Regions from separate parts of the Homo sapiens genome. Here regions 1, 3, 4, 5 and 6 are each linked to region 2. The links are contacts of gene promoters, found by promoter capture Hi-C in blood cells and fetal thymus (Javierre and others, 2016). All regions are on one chromosome and are shown on one strand. The core of a region is centred on a gene start or on the middle of the fragment in contact, and the rest is flanking DNA. Distances in the headings are between cores, read along the strand shown.

Region 1 (3,266 bases), core at 560-3,059, 270 kb after region 2:
AAAAAAAAAAAAGAGGGAGCACGGGTAGCTGTGGAGTGATGGGTGGGCTCTTTGTAGGGCCCTCCCATCTCTGCAGTTGCAGAGCAGCCAGCTGTCCTCCCAGGTGAGGTGGGGTCCGATCATTGTCCCCATGTGTAACAGTCTGAATTGTGTCCCCCAGGAGATCTGTTCAAGTCCTAACCCCTTGGTTCCTGTAAATGTGACCTTATTTGGAAAAAGGTCTTTGCAGATGCAAGTGAAGGATCTTGAGCTGACATCATCCTGGCTTTAGGGTGAGCCTTAAATCCAATGATCGGCGTCCATATAAGAAGTGGGAAGACAGAGAGGGAAAGCCATGTGAAGGTGGAGGCAGGACAAGCCAAGGAATGCCAGGAGCTGCCAGGAGCCACCAGGAGCAGGAAGAAGTGGGGAGGATCCTGCCCCAGAGCCTTTGGCGGCAGCGGCCCTGCCGGCACCTGGACATTTGGCCTCCAGAACTGGAAGAATAAATTTCTGTTGTTTGAAGACACCCTGTTGGTGGTCATTTGTTACAAGAGCTTTGAAAACAAATATACCACAATAGCCCTTCCACGATCCTGCAAGCCTGCAAGCAGGTGACAGAAACGTAGGTCTCCTTGGCACCCCCATCCCATGGAGCTTGGCCAGCCACGGGGGCAGCATGTGGGAGGAGGCAAGGCAAACATATTCTAAAGGTGGCGCTCACCCTGGCTGGGCTGGAGGCTGATGAAGCTTCAGCCTGTGCTCCTGAGACAGCGGAGGCTCTCCCGGGCCCAGAGACCTGCAGACCTCAAGGGGAAGCAATCTCAGCGAAAGTGCTGCCTGCGGTCCGCGGTCAGGCAAGGAGGAAGTGGTGAGCGCGGCAGGAGCTCAAGGCCGGGACATGGGGGTGTGCCCAGCGAAGCGAACAGCAAAGGTGAATTTGCCGGGATGCTGATAAAGCTTACGTTTCTGCGCCCCCTCTAAAGCCCTGTACCTGCTTTTGTAGTTTTTTCTGGAAGGGGATGCCCCTCAGTTGTATCAGCATCGGATCCCACAAACCCTGGATCCCTCCCTGCTAACACCAGGGCCACAAGAGCACATCGCGCATGCAGAGCCAATTGTGTTGATGTTTTCTCAGGTTTTCTGTTGTCTGACCATCCAGCCAACCAGTTTTTTTATGCAGTCGTTCATCCAGCCCTCTACACAGCCAACCAATCTCCATGATTGAGTCTCTGCCACGGGACATACTCCCTGCTCTCAAGAGACTCATGCTTCGAGGCGGGGGAAAGGGGGCATAAATAAGAAGCAATTAAACTGGCTCTGCCATGAGGAGTGGGGGCAAGAGGTGAGCTGAAGGGAAGAACAGTGGAGGGAATGATTGCCTCAATCTGGAGGTCAGAACCGCCCTACCACGGAGATGACCTGAGTTTTGAAGGATGCGTAGAAGTCACCATCAGACAAGAGGGAGGGCAGCTCAGGCAGGGGAACAGCAGGGGCAAAGGTGTGGGACAGCACTGGGCACTTGGGGACTCACTGTGACTCAGCCTGTGACTCAGCCCTCCTGTGGCACCAGGGCTGCTGGATGGAAAGGGAAGAGCAGGGAAGGCCAGAGCCAGGCAGTGGGGAGCGAGGGCAGGAGGGGAGATGGGAAAGAGGGCCTCACGGAGTGTGCTGGTTTCCTGTGGCTGCCGTAACAAAGCACCATACACATGCGGGCTGAAAACAGCAGAAATGTATTGTTTTAGAGTTCTGGAGACTGAAGCCTGAAATCAAGGTGTTGCAGGGCCAGGCTCTAAGGGCAGAACCTTCCTGCCTCTTCCAGCTTCTGGTTTCAATCTTCAGCGTTCCTTGGCTTTCAGCTGCCCCACTCCAATCTCTGCCTCCAGTGTGGTGTTCCTGTGGGTCTCTCGTACCTCTTCTTATAAAGACACTCAGATAAGTTTAGGCCCCCCAATTGAGCCTAACGCGATTGCATCTACAAAGACCCTATTTCCAAATAAGGTCCTATTCACGGTTACTGGGAGCTGGAGCTTCAACAGATCTTTTGGGAAGACACAATTCAACTCACGACAGGGAGGAAGAATTGCGAGTACTTGCTACTGCTGTGATGCCGTGGAGTGAGCAGAAAGGTGAGGAGTTCCTGGGTTTAGGAGGAAGTTGGGATCCACACATGCTGACGTGGATGGCCCTGGTCAGGAGCTGAGGCCTCTAAGATGAGCTGGGCATGGTCGGTGGCTTACAGGGGCTCCTGGTCAAGCAGGGAGGCAGGAAGGAGCCCAGCCCTGCCAGGCACAGAGATGAGCATGTCTTGGGGACACAGGGCAGGGGCAGAAGTGGCCTGAGGGGGCAGCGCAGGCCCCAGAGAAGTACCTGTAGACTCGAGCCAAAAATGCTGTCATCGTCTCTGACTGATGGCTCCCGGGTGTGCCCATCCAGCCTGGCCTCTCCTGAGCACCTGGCTCCCGTGTGTATCCACCAGCTCAGTCCTCTCTGTCCCATCAAGCTCCGCACACCCTCAGCCAAATCCACCAGCCTCGCTTTCCAAAACAGCTCTTCCTGTCTTCCACCCTGGCCTCTTCAAGAAGGGCCCTCCCCGAAGTCCCTCAACCTGCCCTTGAGGGTGGCCTTCCCACAACTCCCCCAGCCTCCGCCTCCACCTAAGCCTTACTTTCACTTGTTCCCAGGGTCACCCAAAGCTTCCAAGGATTTAGGCAGCAAGTAAAAGAAAACAATCCTTGGTCTGGGCGTGGTGGCTCACGCCTGTAATCCCAGCACTTTTGGAGGCCGAGGCGGGTGGATCACGAGGTCAGGAGATCGAGACCATCCTGGCTAACATGGTGAAACCCCATCTCTACTAAAAATACAAAAAAATTAGCCGGGCGTCGTGGCGGGCGCCTGTAGTCCCAGCTACTCTGGAGGCTGAGGCAGGAGAATAGCGTGAATCCGGGAGGCGGAGCTTGCAGTGAGCCAAGATGGCACTGCACTCCAGCCTGGGTGACAGAGCAAGACTCCATCTCAAAAAAAAAAAGAAAACAATCCTTCCCAGCCAGTCTGCCTCTGCCCGGCCTCCAGCAAGCTCCAAGCTGGTGCGTGTTTTCTCAACTTTCTTTAAAACAAAGGTATAGTTATCCTTTGATATCTGTGGGGGGATTGATTCCAGGACCCCCACAGATACTAAAATCCAAGGATGTTCAAGTTGCTTACATAAATTGGAGTATTACTTGCATACAACCTATGCACATTCTCCCGTACACTTCAAATCATCTCTAGATTACTTATAATACCTA
Region 2 (3,228 bases), core at 311-2,810:
TCCAAGGGTAACCACTATCCTGACTGCTACCCCCATATACACCTTCTACCACTTTATCCACATGGAAACAAATATGGCTTTTTATCCTCTGGCTTCTTTTCCTCAACATCATTTGTGAGAGTCATCCATGTTGTTGTGTGTAGTTGATTATTCACTGTCATTGCTGTCATTCCACTGTGTGAATATATCACAATTTATGTATCCATTTAACGGCTGATGAGCATTTCAGTAGTTTCCAGTTTGGGGCAATTATAAACACTGCTGCTATCAACAGAAACACAATGTTAGGTGTGTATCTAGGAGCAGAATTGCTGGGTAATCAAGGCCTTTCAAAAAGATTTTGAAAGTTGTACCACTTTGCATGTCCACCAACAGTGTCTGGCAGTTCCAGTTGCTCCATTTCCTTGTCAACACTTGATATGGTCAGATTTTCCCATTTCCGATGCTCTTGGAGGCTCTGCTCTGCACTTCACTTCTAAATTCCTTTAGCAACAGGTGAGATGGATCTTACGATTTCTATTTTACAGATGAGGACGCCAAGGTTCTGAGAAATGAAGTAATTCCTCCAAAGCAACTTAAACCCTGGCAAGGGTGCAGGGCTGCGACGTTAACAGGGTTGGCCTCAGCCCATCACATCTGTCTGTTAAAGCCGCCTCCCCAGACCTTGTCTTGATGGGGTTTCCCAGCAGTCCTGCCCTAGGGATTGTGGCCCTTCTACACGTGGGGAGAGACGGATCAGTGTCCCTGGCCAGGGCCAAGCCTGAGAGGGAGGCCCAGCCTCCAGGAAGCTCCGGGTCGGGTCTTCGTCCTGCCCCGCTCTCCAGGTTGGAGAGGGGACCCGCAGAGCGCGGGGCGTTGGGGGAGTTGGGGACGGGGGCGTGGTCCGGGACCAGGTAGGAGGTCTTCGGAGGGTGGCAGGGAGGGGAAAACAGGAGAGTTTTCTCCTGCAGCGGAGGAGGGGCTGCAGCACCTGGATGGGGCCCATGTCGCCGCGCCACGGGCAGGGGCGGAGGGGGCGGGAGGGTGCTTGCCAAGGGGCTGGGCTGCCGGGGGCCGGGGCCTCGTGGCTAGCCGGACCCCTCTGCGACAGAGTGGCGAGAGGAGCGGGGAGAGAAGGTGGGGACAGGCGGGGGCCACCTCCTGCGGCTGCAGAGAGGGATGGGGTGGATTGCGGGCCAGCGCTTTAGGGGAGAGAGGGCGGACGCTCGGTGCGGAGGGGCCGGGGCCGGGGCCGGGGCCGGGGGCGTAGCGGGAGGAGGGCGGGGGCGGGGCTGGATTATGGCTGGGGGCGGGGCCATGGCGAGACGGGGGCGGGAGCCACGGTGCGCGCGGGGGCGGGGCAGGGGCGCGGCGGGGGCGGGGCGGCCGTTCGGGGGCGGGGTGGGCGGCAGCGGAGGCCAATGAGCGCGCGCGGCGCAGACCCCGCCCCCCGAATCCCCGTCCCGCGGCGGCGGGTGCTGCATAGTCATGAGGCGCAGGGGCCGGCGCTGCGTCAGCGGAAGCGGCGCGGAGCGGCTGTTTCCGACCCGATAAAGCGGCGTTGTCTCCGCGCGCCGGCCGCAGCCTCGCAGCGCTCTCTCCGCGCCCGCGTCGCTGACTGACCGCCCGGCCGGCCGGCCGAGGGAGCAGCCCCCGCCCGGACCCGCAGCCGCCTCCCGACCCCGGTGCGCCCGGGGCTCCGCGCCCCCGTAGCCCCTGCCCGGCCCGGCCCGGCCGCCCCGCCGCCCCCGCGGCCCCGGCCGGAGGAGACAGGTGAGTGGCCTGCCGCCCGCAGCCGCCTGCCCCGCCGCCCCCTGCACCTCGCACCTGGGCGCCGGGCACCTGCAGCCTCCCCACCCCCACCTCCCGCACAGCCTCGGCCTCCAGGTCGGGTCCGCGCCGCAGCCCCAGCCCCGCACCTTCTCCGGGGGAGGGGACGTGCCCCCACCCGGCTTGCGCTGGCTCCTCAGGGCCCCCCAATTCCTTCCCGCCTCCTCTTTCCGGATTGCACCTGCCCTGGTCCCCAGCCCTGCAGCCTCCCTCATTCCCCCCACCCCGGCCCCCACCCCGGGGCGCGCGCCTTCATTTGGACCCGGCCCGCTTTCGCACCCATCAGTCCTCCCCGCCCCCAGTTCCTCGGTTTCTCTACCCAGAGAGGAGCCTGGCGCCTCTAACTCCTGGTCCTGACCCTGTCTTGTCCTTCTAACCCCTGCCTGCTATCTCTAACTTATGAGAATTCAACCAGCGATACACCACTCGCGAAGTGGCCCCCTCTCCCCTCTGTCTGGACCGGTCCTCCCAACCGAACACACTCCCTTCTTCCCCTTCTTCCCCTTCCCTTCTTCCCCTCCTTTCCCTCTGCCCAGTGCACACACGACCCTGGCAGCACTGCTAGCCAGTGTCCCCCGCCTCGGACCCCCAGCCTGCACCGCCAGACTGTGGCTCTGCCCCGGTCTCATCGGCACTGCGCTCCCTTGTGTCCCTTTGAAGATACCTTGATTTCCTGAGACCGACCTTGTCCCTGGAGGAAAGAGGCCAGGGCATCAGTTCATCCGGGCCCAGATTCCCTGCTCTGTAGAAGTCCCCGCACCTTCTGCGTCTCAGCACCCGCTGCCCCTTTCCCCTTTGCGCTTAACCCGTTCCTCCCCCAGGTATCCTGCTCTGGATTGGAGCACTTCCAGCAGCGGCTTTTCCAGCGGAGGCGGATCCACACGGGGCCCAGCCTCCTGGTTAGCTATTCAGAATGATTCTAGAAGGCGGGGGCTAGGGAGGGCTGGGAAGGGCCGCTTGACCTCCTAAGGAGCCTGAGGTGTTTGTGTCTCTCCAGTGCGGGTCACTGATGGAGTGTGGCTTCAGGTTCACAGACCTAGCCACTGACCCCCATCTGATACCTCAGCTGACTCCAGCAAAACAGGGCTTGTCGTTTTTATTACTGTTTTGGGGGCTGTCTTTTCCAGTCTATGACCCGGAGCGAGGAGGGTTTACCAGATGAGTGATTGAACTAATTGTTGTGGGGTCAGATGATTCTTGTGGGCTGGTAGATTCTGAATCGAAGCCCATTTCTGCTGGGGAAAAGCCACTGCATCTGCCCAGCATTACTGAGAGCGCCCTGCGCTTCCATTCCCCAGACGGTCTCATCCTTCCTGTGTCATTGGCAGACAGGTAGAATGTGGTAGGAATCTTATCCTTCTGTTATTTTGTGCTGGCTTTAGGAAAAAATAAGAAAACAAAAAGCTGGAGTATTGGTGT
Region 3 (3,105 bases), core at 77-2,576, 510 kb after region 2:
TACTTAAATTTATTTTTAAAACCTTTTTCAGTAGTAAACATTAGCTTACAGTAACTTTTATATTTTATAAACTGATTTTTTTCGGCTTTTTTGACTCTTGTAATAACAATTAATTTTAAATATATTGTACAGCTGTACAAAAAATTTTCTTTTTTTACATACTTATTCTGTAAGCTTTTTTCTAGTTTTAAAATGATTTTCTGTGTTTTTTACTTTTTCAGCTTTTTTGTTAAAAAGTAAGACACAAACATACACGCTAGCCTAGGCCTACACAGGGTCAAGAGTATCCATATCACCATCTTCTACCTCCACATCTTGTCCCACTGGGAGGTCTTCAGGGGCCGTAACACACATGAAACTGTCATCTCCTATGAGAACAGTGCCACTTTCTGGAATACTTTCTAGAAGCCCTGCCTGAGGCTGTTTTACATTTAACTTTTTTTTTTTAAATAAGTAGAAGTACATTCTAATTAAAAAAAAAATAGTAAATACATAAACCAGTAACATAGTCATTATCCAGTATTATGTGCTGTACATAATCGTATGTGCTATACTTTTATAAGACTGGCAGCACAGTAGATTTTTTTTACACCAGCTTCACCATAAACATGAGCATTACAACTTCAGGATGGCTACGGCATACCTAGCAATAGGAATTCTTAGCTCTATTATATAAATCTTATGGAACCACCATTGTATATGCGGACCATCATTGACCAAAATGTTGTTATGTGGTGCATTGACTATATATACTGTAAACTGAGTTAATTTCCACACTGTGTTGTCCATGATATTCTCTGGGTAGAAATTATTATGTGATTATAATAGTTATTATTATATGATTATAATAATTATAACAGCAGCAGTACCTGATACTGGGCACATGCTACCTGTGGTTCTTTACGCAGAAGCCAAGAGAAGCTGTGTCATTGTCACAACCAAGGAAGTAGATACTTTGATATACTTTGGTTAACCCCATTCTGTAGCTGAGGAAACTGAGGCATGAGAGGTTGGCCACATCAAGTAATTGACAAGAGATGGGGTTCATACCCAAACAGTCTGGATCCAAAGCCTGTGTTCTTAATCAACAGGCAACAGTGATTTAAAACAAGTGGCATGAGAAAGAGCCATTTGGCAAATACTACCTAATGTGGTCCTTTCTGCAAGATGGACAAAATACACTCGTGTATGAAAGGATCTGGACAGTCTGGTGGCACACACGGTTGTGCTGGTGTGTAAAGCATGTTTTTTGAAGCTCATCTGTTTCCATCAGCACACCAGGATTCTTTGGTCTGTTAACGGCCAGTTCTCTGGGTAGCTTTATTTGCAGCACTCCTCACTTAGGCTGATGCCTCGTCACTCTTCTGCCCTGTGATTCTGTGAGTTTGGTGACATCTGAGGGCTCTAGGAACTCTTGTTGATTCTGGAGATTAAGCAAATATTACCAAACAATATCAAATTTTATATTGGAAAGAGAATGATTTCTAAGCCCTTGGGCGAACATGCTATATGTGCTAAAAATAATGAAATTTTATTAATTTTCTTTTACATTAGAAATTATGATGGATGGTTGATAAAAAATTTACTCCACATTAGTTTCTGATAGAAGTCATACTTTAACTTACTGATTGTCTAAATTCTTCCCTTAACTGGAGTATGCCAGAGGGGCCAGACACTCTGAAGGAAAATACTTTTTTCATCTCTTTTGATTCTAGAAAGTGAGCCCCAGTTTAAGTGATTTTTCTGTTTTCATCTGGGTTTGCATTTGTCACATATTCTAGGAATAATGTCCTTAAATATCAGATTTCCTTTCTCAAATCTCATGACAAATCTTGTTTCATTCCCACTCTTCTCTGTTTTCAAGTGTATAGAGATGTCTGATGTCATAGCACAGCTGTCCTTTGCTTACTGGGAAGAACAATGAAGTCTGTTTTCTTGATCTTTTCTCCGTTAGCCTCTGACAGTGACGGCACCATCCCTAACCATTGCGGAGAATATGGCTGACCTAATAGATGGGTACTGCCGGCTGGTGAATGGAACCTCGCAGTCATTTATCATCAGACCTCAGAAAGGTGAGGTGCTGTTTCTGAGCATTCCCAATTGCGCTTCTACCAAATATTTAGCTGTGCTTGCCCCTAACAGCCTGTTATCCTCTTTTAGGTAACTGTAAAAATGAAGACCAAATGAATAATTCAGCTCAGTATAATCTGAGGACTTATTTTTCTAGGGATGGTGATCCGTTTCACACCTTCCACAAGCCAAGAGCTGGGTTTGAATAGAGCCTAAAAAAAACATTGTCTGTGTTTTGAGCTACCTACTTAGAGGATTTTCTAAATTGCCATTACTATTTTTAAATACATTAGTATTTTTAAAATTTTGGGTTTAAATAAAATTCTGGGTTTAAAAAAAGGAATCCGTTATAACTCACTATAAATAAAGTGTCCTTTCTACTTTTTCTTATATATCTCAAAAGCTTAGAGCATTCAAAGAAGAAAGTACAGTCTAAGTCATGATGTTAAAAAATCAAAGATTAGAATGAATAAATATCCTAGAAACGTCACTATAAAAGCGGTGTGGAGTTTTTGCAAGCATATAATGAGGAATGCTTTTGAGGATTTGGATTTCTGAAAGAATCAAATGAAAATATTCCCAGCAGGATAATAGCATACATAGTGTGAAGCAGGGAAAGACTGAGTTTGGGAATTATGGGACTTAAGTTCAAATCATGAGTCCTCTGTGACACCATCTATAAATTACTTTTCTGAGCCTCAGTTCTGTCATCTGGTCAAACACGAAGAACAGTAACTGTCTTCTATGGTATTAGGAGGATAAAGGACTTATTTATAGGCTTGGAACTATGCCTGGCACACTTGATGCTCCTAGATTTTAGTTGTATTGTTGTTCCTGTTGTTGCTACTAGTTGAGTCTGATCTTGACACTGTATCAGCCTAGACTTTGAGATACCTCATCTGTAAAAGAATGATACCTATTTTGTAGGGTTGTTAGACACCTCCCAAGGAGTAACTGTAAAGCAGCTCACGCTGTGGAAGTGGGGACTCTGAATGTGGGTTTTGCCAATACCCCTTCTAGCACTCACCTCAGTGA
Region 4 (2,859 bases), core at 231-2,730, 370 kb after region 2:
CTCACTGTTCTGCGGGCTGTACAGGAAACATGGCACCGGCTTCCAGGGAGGCGTCGGAGAGCTTTTACTCATGATGGAAGGTGAAGTGGGAGCAGATGCGTCACATGGCAAGAGAGAACAAGAGAGAGAGTGGGAGGTGCCATACACTTTTAAACAACCAGATCTCACATGAACTCGCTTGTCACCAAGGGAATGGCACTAAGCCATTCATGAGGAATACGCCCCCGTGATCCAAACACCTCCTACCAGGCTGCACTTCCAACACTGGGGACTACATTTCAACATGAGATTTGGCTGGGAAACAGATCCAGTCCTTATCACCATCCACCTGATGTTTTTATTGTGCACGTTATGCCTCAAGAAATAAAACTTTAAAGAGAAGAAAAAGTGACTTATATGCAAACAGATATTATCCATATACTCTTGCACACATATATGCGCGCACACACACACACACACACGCACGCACTCATTAGAGCTCAAATTTTCTTTCCAGCTGGATCAACATTTATTTGTCTGGATTAGGTACCACCAAAGTTGAAGTGAAGTAGATTTCAGTGTAGACACTGCTTTTGAAAACAGTCTTGAAGTCCTTGATTCATTTATGTAATCTGATTTATTTGTGGCCTAAAGGCTTTATATTTGTCTTTGTATAATGAGATTGTATATTATAAAGGTCATATAATTAGCAGAAATAAAAGATGTTTAAAAGTTATTTTAGTATTTGTTGCTCAAGTTCTTGTAGCTCTGGAGAAAAATAGTTTTATCAGCGTTATAAATAAAAATGCTATTTCTTATATTGATGAAACTATGCAGTCTTCAGCTCCATCTTTTAGTTAATAGTTAATGAGCTATAATGGTAGGGTACATTTATGTTTTAAACTGCTAGAATTAAGAATGTACATAGTAAGTCTAGGTGCAGAGGTTCATGCCTGTAATCCCAACCCTTTGGGAGGCTGAGGTGGGAGGATCGCTTGAGCCCAGGAGTTTGAACAACATGGCAACACCTCATCTCTACAAAAAATTTTAAAATTAGCCAGGTGTGGTGGCACATGCCTGTGGTCCCAGCTACTCGGGAGGCTGAGGCGGGAGAATTGCTTGAACCTGGGGGTGGTCAAGCTGCAGTGAGCTATGTTCACCCCACTGCACTGCAGCCTGGACGACAGAGCAAGTCCCTCTCTCAATAAAACAAACAAACAAACAAACAAACAAAAAGTTAGCTGGGCGTGGTGGTGCGTGCCTGTAGTCCCAGGTACTTGGGAGACTGAGGTGGGAGGATCGCCTGAGCCTGAGGGGTCGAGGCTGCATTGAGCTGAGATCATGCCACTGCATCCCAGCGTAGGTGACAAAAGTGAGACCCTGTCTCCAAAAAAAAAATAGAGTTGCTCATTACTACTTTGTGGTACTTGTTGATGTCCTGTGGAGCAGCCATTTAGCATTTTTTTTCCCAATAAACTCTTGGTTAAAAAGCCACAACAGTGAGTAGGAGTGGAATCAAAGTAGAAAGTTGTATGTTCTAATTTTCGTTTAAAAATCAGTTTATTTTAAATGATGAGCTCATCATTTTACGATCTTCAGGATATACTATAATGTGTGGCACTAATAGAATCAGTGATAGAATAAGGTGCATTACAGTAGGGCTTCCTAAGTTGCTTTTTGTTTATTTAATGCATATGCTCTTCTGTGTCTTGAGACACTGTCTCCAGCAGATGAGACCTGTTTATTACAGCCTCTGCAGAGAACTATTTGTGTGTTGATCACACAGTAAATATCTAATGGTAGCCTCTTTGACATTTGGTGTTTGGGAACAGGAGGGAGATTGCTGATTGTTCTGCTTTTTATATTTTATTGTCTCACTCCATCCCTGTATTTTTCTCTGGGAATGTCTTCATTAACTTAACCCTGGTTTTGAAGGCTTAAAAGTGTGCTGGTACGCTTTTTAGAATTGGTGACAGTTCCGGTTGGTGTAGCCCAGGTGGCAGTCATTCATGGTTCACTTGTCATTGCATGAACTTGGGATAGCTGTTCATATTGTGTTCATTTCAGTTGAATTTATGTGTGTGATTGTTGTATTACACATGTTGAATTTATTTTTTTTTAATTAAAAAAATTTTTTTTGAGATGGAGTTTCGCTCTTGTCACCCAGGCTGGAATGCAATGGTGTGGTCTCAGCTCACTGCAACCACTGCCTCCTGGGTTCAAGCAATTCTCCTGCCTCAGCCTCCCAAGTAGCGCAGGTACTCACCACCATGCCCGGCTAATTTTTGTATTTTTAGTAGAGACAGGGTTTTACCATGTTGTCCAGGCTGGTCTTGAACTCCTGATCTCAGGTGATCTGCCTGCCTCAGCCTCCCAAAGTGCTGGGATTACAGGCGTGAGCCACTGTGCCCGGCCATGTTCATATTAAAAAAACAATTTTATTTTAAGCCTACAGCACCCAGTATTTTCAGGCAGCCTCCCAATCCCAATACTACTAACCAGGCCCCACGCTGCTTAGCTTTTGAGATTGGATGGCATGGCTGTAGACCATGGTCATATTTTGGCAAGTGATGTCCCTTATAGCAGTTCTTACCCTTGATACAGGATCCTGTCTGGAATCACTTGTAATATATAGTCATGACTCTTTAGTCTTTTTTTTTTGAGACAGAGTCTCGCTTTGTCACCCAGACTGGAGTGCAGTGGCACTATCTCATCTCACTGCAAGCTCCGTTTCCCGGGTTCAGGCCTGCCTGAGTCTCTCAAGTGGCGCCATCCACACCTGGCCAATTTTTTTGTTTCACTATTTTGGCCAGGCTGGTCTCGAACTCCTGGCTTCAGGTGATCCACCCGCCTCGGCCTCCCAAATGCAAAGTAGTGTTT
Region 5 (3,122 bases), core at 276-2,775, 470 kb after region 2:
TTTCTTAGGATGCGTGATATATTGGACTCGCTTTTATTATTTATTTCCGGTGTCCTAGAAATAAGCTGTGTGTGAGTGCATGTGCTGTGTATTTCTTAGTTGGTATTCTTATTCCACATTTTCTTCTGTAATTACGTTGAAATTTATAAACATCTCTACTCTTTCATTAGTTACCCTTACATTTAACCTTCTATATTAACCAACTCCAGATTTTAAACTTATCTAACCCTCTCTTAAACAATACAAGGACCTTTAAACACCTTAACTCTCCCCATCTTCTTCCAACTTACACATCATTTTTTCCTGTTATTTTAGTTATATCTTTTCAAAATTGAAACTCCAAATATTAGACATTATTATTATTTTATACAGTTATTATTTTTGGCTTTCCCTACATGTATATGATTTTATTTCTTAAACATCCTATATTGGGCCAGGTGCAGTGGCTCATAACCTATAATCCCAGCACACTGGGAGGCCAGGGTAGGAAGATGGCTTGACCAGCACGGATAGCATAGCGAGACCTCATCTCTACAAATAATTATAAAAATTAGCCAGGCGCGGTGGCACGCAGCTGTGGTCTCACCTAGTCGGGAGGCTGAGGCTGGAGGATTGCTTGAGCCCAGCTTGTTGTGGCTGCAGTGAGCTATGATCATGCCACTGCACTCCAGCCTGGGCAACAGAGGAAGACCTTGCTTAAAATAACCATTTTTGTATCTCAGACCACCCTTCTGGTATGCTTTTCCTTTTATTCCAAATATATTGTTCTGCTCATTGTTTTTTTCTCAACACTGTAAAGATACTCTGTTATGACAAGAAATGTCTGTTGACATTTCTTTATGGTTGCTCTTTCTTTTAAGGTCCTTTTCCTACTTTTCATCTTTTCTAGTTTTATTCATGTCTTGTGCTTCGATTTCTTTTTATAAATCCAGTTGGAATAAGACATACTTCTCAATTCTGTAGATTCATGTTTTTCATCTGGAAAATATATGCCACTATCTCTTTAATAATCAACAGATATATTTCTGATCTTTGCTGTCTCTTACATTTTTCGTGTTTTCTATCTCTCTGTCTCTCTGGATTCTCTCTTTTTTGGGGGAGATATTTCTTTGGATTTGTCTTATAATTCTTTAATTCTCTTAAGTAGTATCTTTATGCCATACGTTGTTCATTGTTTTTTTCATTCTACCACTTATATTTTTTCATTTCTAGACATTCCATTTCATGTGATGTAATCTTCTTCATGCTTGGTAACCTCTGGTATGCCCATCTGTGGTGTTTGTGCCGTTTATTTCTTCAAGTTTTTATGCATAGCTGTTTTCTGTTCTGTATTTGACAATAACCTTGAGGTACTGGGGTGTCTCAATCTGCTGTTACTCTGACTCTCACTCAGGCCACCAAAGTGGCTTGGATTAGAGGCTGGTGGCCCTAGACTGGGCAAGCTGAGTTCCAGGGGGCTTTGTTTACACTGCTGCGGCTTCTGGCAAGAGCCAGGAAATGATGCCACTTCCGCCTTCGTCAGGTCCAACCTCAGTGCCCAAGCGCCGGGTTCATCATCCCCACCTTGCAGGTACCGTCGGTCCAGAAACCCAAAAACAGTTTCCCTTCTGCCTGTCGTGCTTTGTGTTAGTGTGTGTGTGCTGGGGGCGTCCTAGAAACCGGCATGTTTATCACCCTGTTGCCTAAACATTCTTCATTGTAGCTCAATCTGTTTCCAACATTAGTTTCCCTTTTACTTTTACTTATAAGTTTTTTTTTTGTTTTTTTTTTTGAGACGGAGTCTCACTCTGTGCCCAGGCTGGAGTGCAGTGGCGCGATCTCGGCTCACTGCAAGCTCCGCCTCCTGGGTTCACACCATTCTCCTGCCTCAGCCTCCTTAGTAGCTGGGACTACAGGTGCCCGCCACCATGCCCAGCTAATTTTTTGTATTTTTAGTAGAGACGGGATTTCACCATGTTAGCCAGGATGGTCTCGATCTCCTGACCTTGTGATCCGCCCGCCTCGGCCTCCCAAAGTGCTGGGCTTACAAGCGTGAGCCACCGCGCCCGGCCTAGAAGTTTTTAATATGTAGTTTTTGATAATAAAATTCTGTTTTTAAATCTGTCTCTTTTTAAAAAATTTCACCCTTGTTCTTGAAAGGTAGCTTAACAGATGCTGGTCAAGCAATCTTCCCACTTTGGCCTCCCAATGTGCTGAGATTATAGGTATGAGTCACCATATCTGGCCCGATAATAGCTTAACAGAGAAAATGTAACTATTAACCTGGTTACATTTTATATAATAAAGATACTTAACAATATTGCATTTGGCCATTGTAAAGGCTGATGCCAGTGCTTTAGGAGTGGCCTGGCTGAGAGGATGTGCAGGGACTCGCATGCACACACCATGGCTGTTCTACCACAGGAGCAACTGGGAACCCCAGCAGCTCTCTCAAGGAGTGTGTTGGCATTTCTTTTTCCTATTGGTTTTGGCTAGTAACTTGGAGCCATTTAGAAATTTATATTTCTTCGGTACAGAAAGGAATTATACATGAATACAGAATACTGCTTGTTTCTTATTAGTTCATTTCATGGTTCTCTTTTTCCTTTCTAATAAGAAAACTCATGATATGTTCCACATAATTTATTAGATTCCGGCAGGAATTTTAAAGTCAAACTCAGTTGTTTACAGCCTAATGCACAATGCCCTTTCAGCTTTACTGTACTTTTTTTTTTGAGATGGAGTCTTGCTCTGTTGCCCAGGCTGGAGTGCAGTGGCGTGACCTCGGCTTGCAGCAACCTCCTCCTCCTGGATTCAAGCAATTCTCCTGCCTCAGCCTCCTAAGTAGCTGGGATTGCAGGTGCCCACCACTGTGCCCGGCTAATTTTTTTTGTATTTTTAGTAGAGATGGGGTTTTACCATGTTGGCCAGGCTGATTTTGAACTCCTGACCTCAAGTGATCAGCCCGCATCGGCCTTCTAAAGTGCTAGGATTACAGGTGTAAGCCACCGTGCCCAGCTGCTTTACTGTATTTCTAAATGACTTTTTTTGTTTTTGTTTGTTTGTTTGAGACAGAGTCTCTCTCTGTTGCCCAGGCTAGAGTGCAGTGGCATGATCTCAGCCCAGTGTAACCTCCACCTCCC
Region 6 (3,170 bases), core at 483-2,982, 490 kb after region 2:
AGATGCTGAGAAATAAGAGGCCAAGAGAAACAAGGAGGGCTTGAATTTAAAGGAGGCAGAGGGTAGAGAGTTGTTGGGTTACATTTGAAGAATGTTACGGGCGTAAAGTCTAACAGGACTTAGCTACTGGTCTAATGTGGGAGGAGGAAGAAGAAAATACAGGGCCTGGCCTCAGATTTCTGTCCCATACACTTAAGTGCTGTCTAGTGCTACTAGTCAAGAGACAATATTGAAGCAGAATCTGAACTGGGTGGGACTGCCCGTGATGCATTCAGCTGTGTAAGTAGTGAACTAGAAGTGCCTGGAGACTATGGGGGTCAAAGGGAAGGGGTATAGGAAAGAGTAAGTTCAGAGTGATAGAGTTGCAACCAAGTTAGATGTATATGTTAGGGTCCAGTCGGGTAGGGCCAATAAGCCACCACGGCTGAAATCTCAGTGCTCTTAGTGGCAGGTTTTAGATGTCTGTGAGAAACTGCAGTGGAACTGTCAGGTAGGCAGGTGTGTATATATATATATGCATTTTAACCTCAAGAGCAGATTCTGTTTCCTCGACTTCTATCTCCGTTACTTCATAGAATGTTTTAGGTTAATTTTAAAAAGCATTGAACAAATGAGCAGGTGTCAGTATATTATAATATTGCCAATAATTTATATATAAACCAGCAGCTGGTTGGGAATTAGGTACAAAGTAGAGAATTGACTTTTTTTCTGTACCTATTTTACATAATTTTTGATCACTGCATGTCAGTATTTACCTGAGTTGAAATATTCCTCTTAGAGTCATGAATGAATATACCAACATTTGGTTAATGTTAATAGAAATGTTTTGTCATTGTGTTCTGGTCCCTGTGTTCAGTTGACAACTGTTCCTTGCAACTGCTACCATATTCCAATTTATTGTATCATACACTTAAAGAGATTTTTTTATATTCCAGGGCTTTTGCTGGACTTATTTTCTATTAATACTTGTAGATGGGAGACATTTCTTACACTCAGAGCATTTGTACATTGAGGCAGCATGTTCTATGATAGAAGTTTGAAACTAAAGAAATCTGAACTGTCTTCCCACTTACTTACTAGAAAGTGAAACCTAATTTATCACAGGATAGAACTAGATTTTATTCATCCATATTATCTGTTTGAGAGTTTGCCAGAATCCAAGTTGTTATGGCAGAGACATGTAATTATTCATTGTAAAAGCACATCATTGAGTTTCAGCTGCGGGCTATACTCTTTTCTTTGGGGTAACAAGGCAGTGCATGCTCCCTTATCACCAACGTGGATCTTATATAAGTGCCATGTCTAAAAATACATTCAAAGCAGTATGAGACCCATAGGGATGTGGTGGTTGTTTCTTCCTGGTTTCTTCTATCAAGCAGAGCATCTTAGAAAAGGAGGTGTTTGAATTGGTCTCATAGCAAGTAAAAAGAAATCAAGTAGTTCTGGATTAGAATCACAATTCTTGTACCCCCTCGTTGTTACCTAATGTTTCAGTCTCTGTTTGCTCAGTAATATATGAAAAATAGTATCTCCCTTGCAAGGGTCATTGTGAAGACTTTGTTTATTTCCACGGAAGGGCCTACAGATGTCTTTTCTGGTATCATTTTTTGGTAGTGTGTGTGTGTTTGTGTGTGTGTGTGTGTGTGTGAATCAGCGCCTAATAGCACTATATGCACAGAATTATACTGTTCCTCCTGTAGCCATGAATGAAGATCAGAATGCTCTTTTTCCAGCTGTACTCTGAATTTATTGAGAATAGATACCTGTTCTGATTATGCAGTGTATGCCAAGTGCCAAGCACAGAGTAGAATTTCCTTAGTGGATTTGTTCTAGGTCCAGAGTGTAGCGGGCCTGCTTCTTAGAGACTGCTTTATATTCAGCAAAGTCCCAAGGTACTATATTGTTAATTTATAAGGAGAAAAACATCATGTAGGTGGCTACAAGCAGTACTCAAATCTCCATGTCCAATCTGCATGCTCTGTTGTAGAGTCTGTCCTACATAGGTGATCATAAGCAGAGAATGTTTAGAAAGCCTGGAGTCAAACCAAGAATATGCTTTTCGGACTTTTGTTTATAGAGCATCTGAGGCTGACCACCTCACTTTCCATGTGATACATTTTATAGTCAAGCCTTGCTAACCTTGAACCCATTTTATTGCTCTTCAGTTTAAGTTCTGTGAAGCTGTAATTAATCCTTTTCAAAACAGCTATAATTCTCTTATTCCACTCTGTCATACTCACCTGTCAAAACCTCAGCCCTGGTTAAAACCAACTATTGGTCAGCTTACTTAGCTTTGGCCTTCTCTTTTGTCTTCATTTTATTTGCAGGTGCCATCTAGTCCCATGTATTTAAATACTTCAGCTGGTGGCTCTGAAATTTCTAGCAACAGTGCTGCCCTCTCCTGAGCTCCAGACTTAGATCCAAATGTCTCCTTGATGGTTCATGTTGGAAGACTTCAAGGTCAAACACATGTACAGGGTTAACATGACTTTATTTTTTTCACCAAGCCTGCCTCTTATGTTTGCCTGTTTGTTCCATCTAAAACTCTACTTTTCCTGGATTCTTTACTTTCCAGTTGTCTTGCATATGATCATCCAAATGTCCCAAAAGTGCCCATTTCTCTTCTTCACCACTACCTTGGGGTCCATGCCACTAGTGTTTTCTTGCTTGATCTGTTACAGTGACCTGACTGGTCTTTCTGCTTTCACTCCTACACACTCCCCCAACCCTCTGTGTGCAAGAGCAGAGCGAGCTTTTTAAAATAAAAGTCACATGCCTTAGGTAATCCTCCCATGTTCCACTATCTTGGCTCATTGAATTCCTGTCTTCAGGAATCTTGTCCTCTGCCTTACCTCAACCTCTCACTCTGGTCTTATTCATTTCCAGTAATCGAACCCCCTCCCTAATTGTGTGTATCCTTCTCTCTGACCATAGCTCCTGTCTTTCCAGCTCACTTTCTGTAGTATCCCAGATCCAGTAATCCTTGGATCCTACTAGGACCTTCAAGCCACTACAGACAGGCTATTACCTCCATGACCCCACCAAAGTATGCCATGCCCTCCTAGTTTACGGTGTACCTGACTTAGCAGCCACACCTCAACCTGGGCCCCTGGCTGCTCCCCATGTCCCTGACCCACTGAGATTAGCAGGTCACCTAATCCATCTTCCCT

Evidence for each region. Contacts are between HindIII fragments. The CHiCAGO score rates a contact against its expected background, and 5 or more counts as called.
Region 1: a contact is called between a fragment that was not itself captured here and the fragment with the promoter of SLC45A4 in region 2, in 2 of 17 cell types (neutrophils and monocytes). The highest score is 8.4, in neutrophils.
Region 3: a fragment that was not itself captured here is called in contact with the fragment with the promoter of SLC45A4 in region 2 in 1 of 17 cell types (total B cells); the score reaches 5.1 in total B cells.
Region 4: a fragment that was not itself captured here is called in contact with the fragment with the promoter of SLC45A4 in region 2 in 3 of 17 cell types (monocytes, total B cells and naive B cells); the score reaches 9.4 in monocytes.
Region 5: a contact is called between a fragment that was not itself captured here and the fragment with the promoter of SLC45A4 in region 2, in 3 of 17 cell types (naive B cells, total B cells and total CD8 T cells). The highest score is 7.0, in naive B cells.
Region 6: a contact is called between a fragment that was not itself captured here and the fragment with the promoter of SLC45A4 in region 2, in 4 of 17 cell types (naive B cells, total B cells, total CD8 T cells and 1 more). The highest score is 9.9, in naive B cells.

Annotation. Positions count from the first base shown.
Region 1 is chr8:141,033,799-141,037,064 of GRCh38, reverse strand. LOC124902030 (a long non-coding RNA gene) reads left to right here. Exons shown (of 2, transcript XR_007061121.1): 2 at 161-508. Among named protein-coding and RNA genes, the nearest start is that of PTK2, 34 kb to the right of the region's middle. The HindIII fragment of the contact is 1,736 bases long and covers 942-2,677 here.
Region 2 is chr8:141,306,620-141,309,847 of GRCh38, reverse strand. SLC45A4 (solute carrier family 45 member 4) reads left to right here and starts at 1,560. Exons shown (of 9, transcript NM_001286646.2): 1 at 1,560-1,752. RefSeq lists silencers at 1,325-1,564, 1,585-1,684. The HindIII fragment of the contact is 5,295 bases long and covers 1-3,228 here.
Region 3 is chr8:140,799,426-140,802,530 of GRCh38, reverse strand. It overlaps PTK2 (protein tyrosine kinase 2), which reads left to right. Exons shown (of 36, transcript NM_001352702.2): 12 at 1,955-2,072. Among named protein-coding and RNA genes, the nearest start is that of MIR151A, 68 kb to the right of the region's middle. The HindIII fragment of the contact is 2,299 bases long and covers 177-2,475 here.
Region 4 is chr8:140,940,230-140,943,088 of GRCh38, reverse strand. The region is part of intron 1 of PTK2 (protein tyrosine kinase 2); the gene reads left to right. It also overlaps the pseudogene RNA5SP278. Among named protein-coding and RNA genes, the nearest start is that of PTK2, 60 kb to the left of the region's middle. The HindIII fragment of the contact is 5,639 bases long and covers 1-2,859 here.
Region 5 is chr8:140,837,654-140,840,775 of GRCh38, reverse strand. All of the region lies in intron 7 of PTK2 (protein tyrosine kinase 2), which reads left to right. Among named protein-coding and RNA genes, the nearest start is that of MIR151A, 110 kb to the right of the region's middle. The HindIII fragment of the contact is 3,778 bases long and covers 1-3,122 here.
Region 6 is chr8:140,820,829-140,823,998 of GRCh38, reverse strand. All of the region lies in intron 8 of PTK2 (protein tyrosine kinase 2), which reads left to right. Among named protein-coding and RNA genes, the nearest start is that of MIR151A, 90 kb to the right of the region's middle. The HindIII fragment of the contact is 6,171 bases long and covers 1-3,170 here.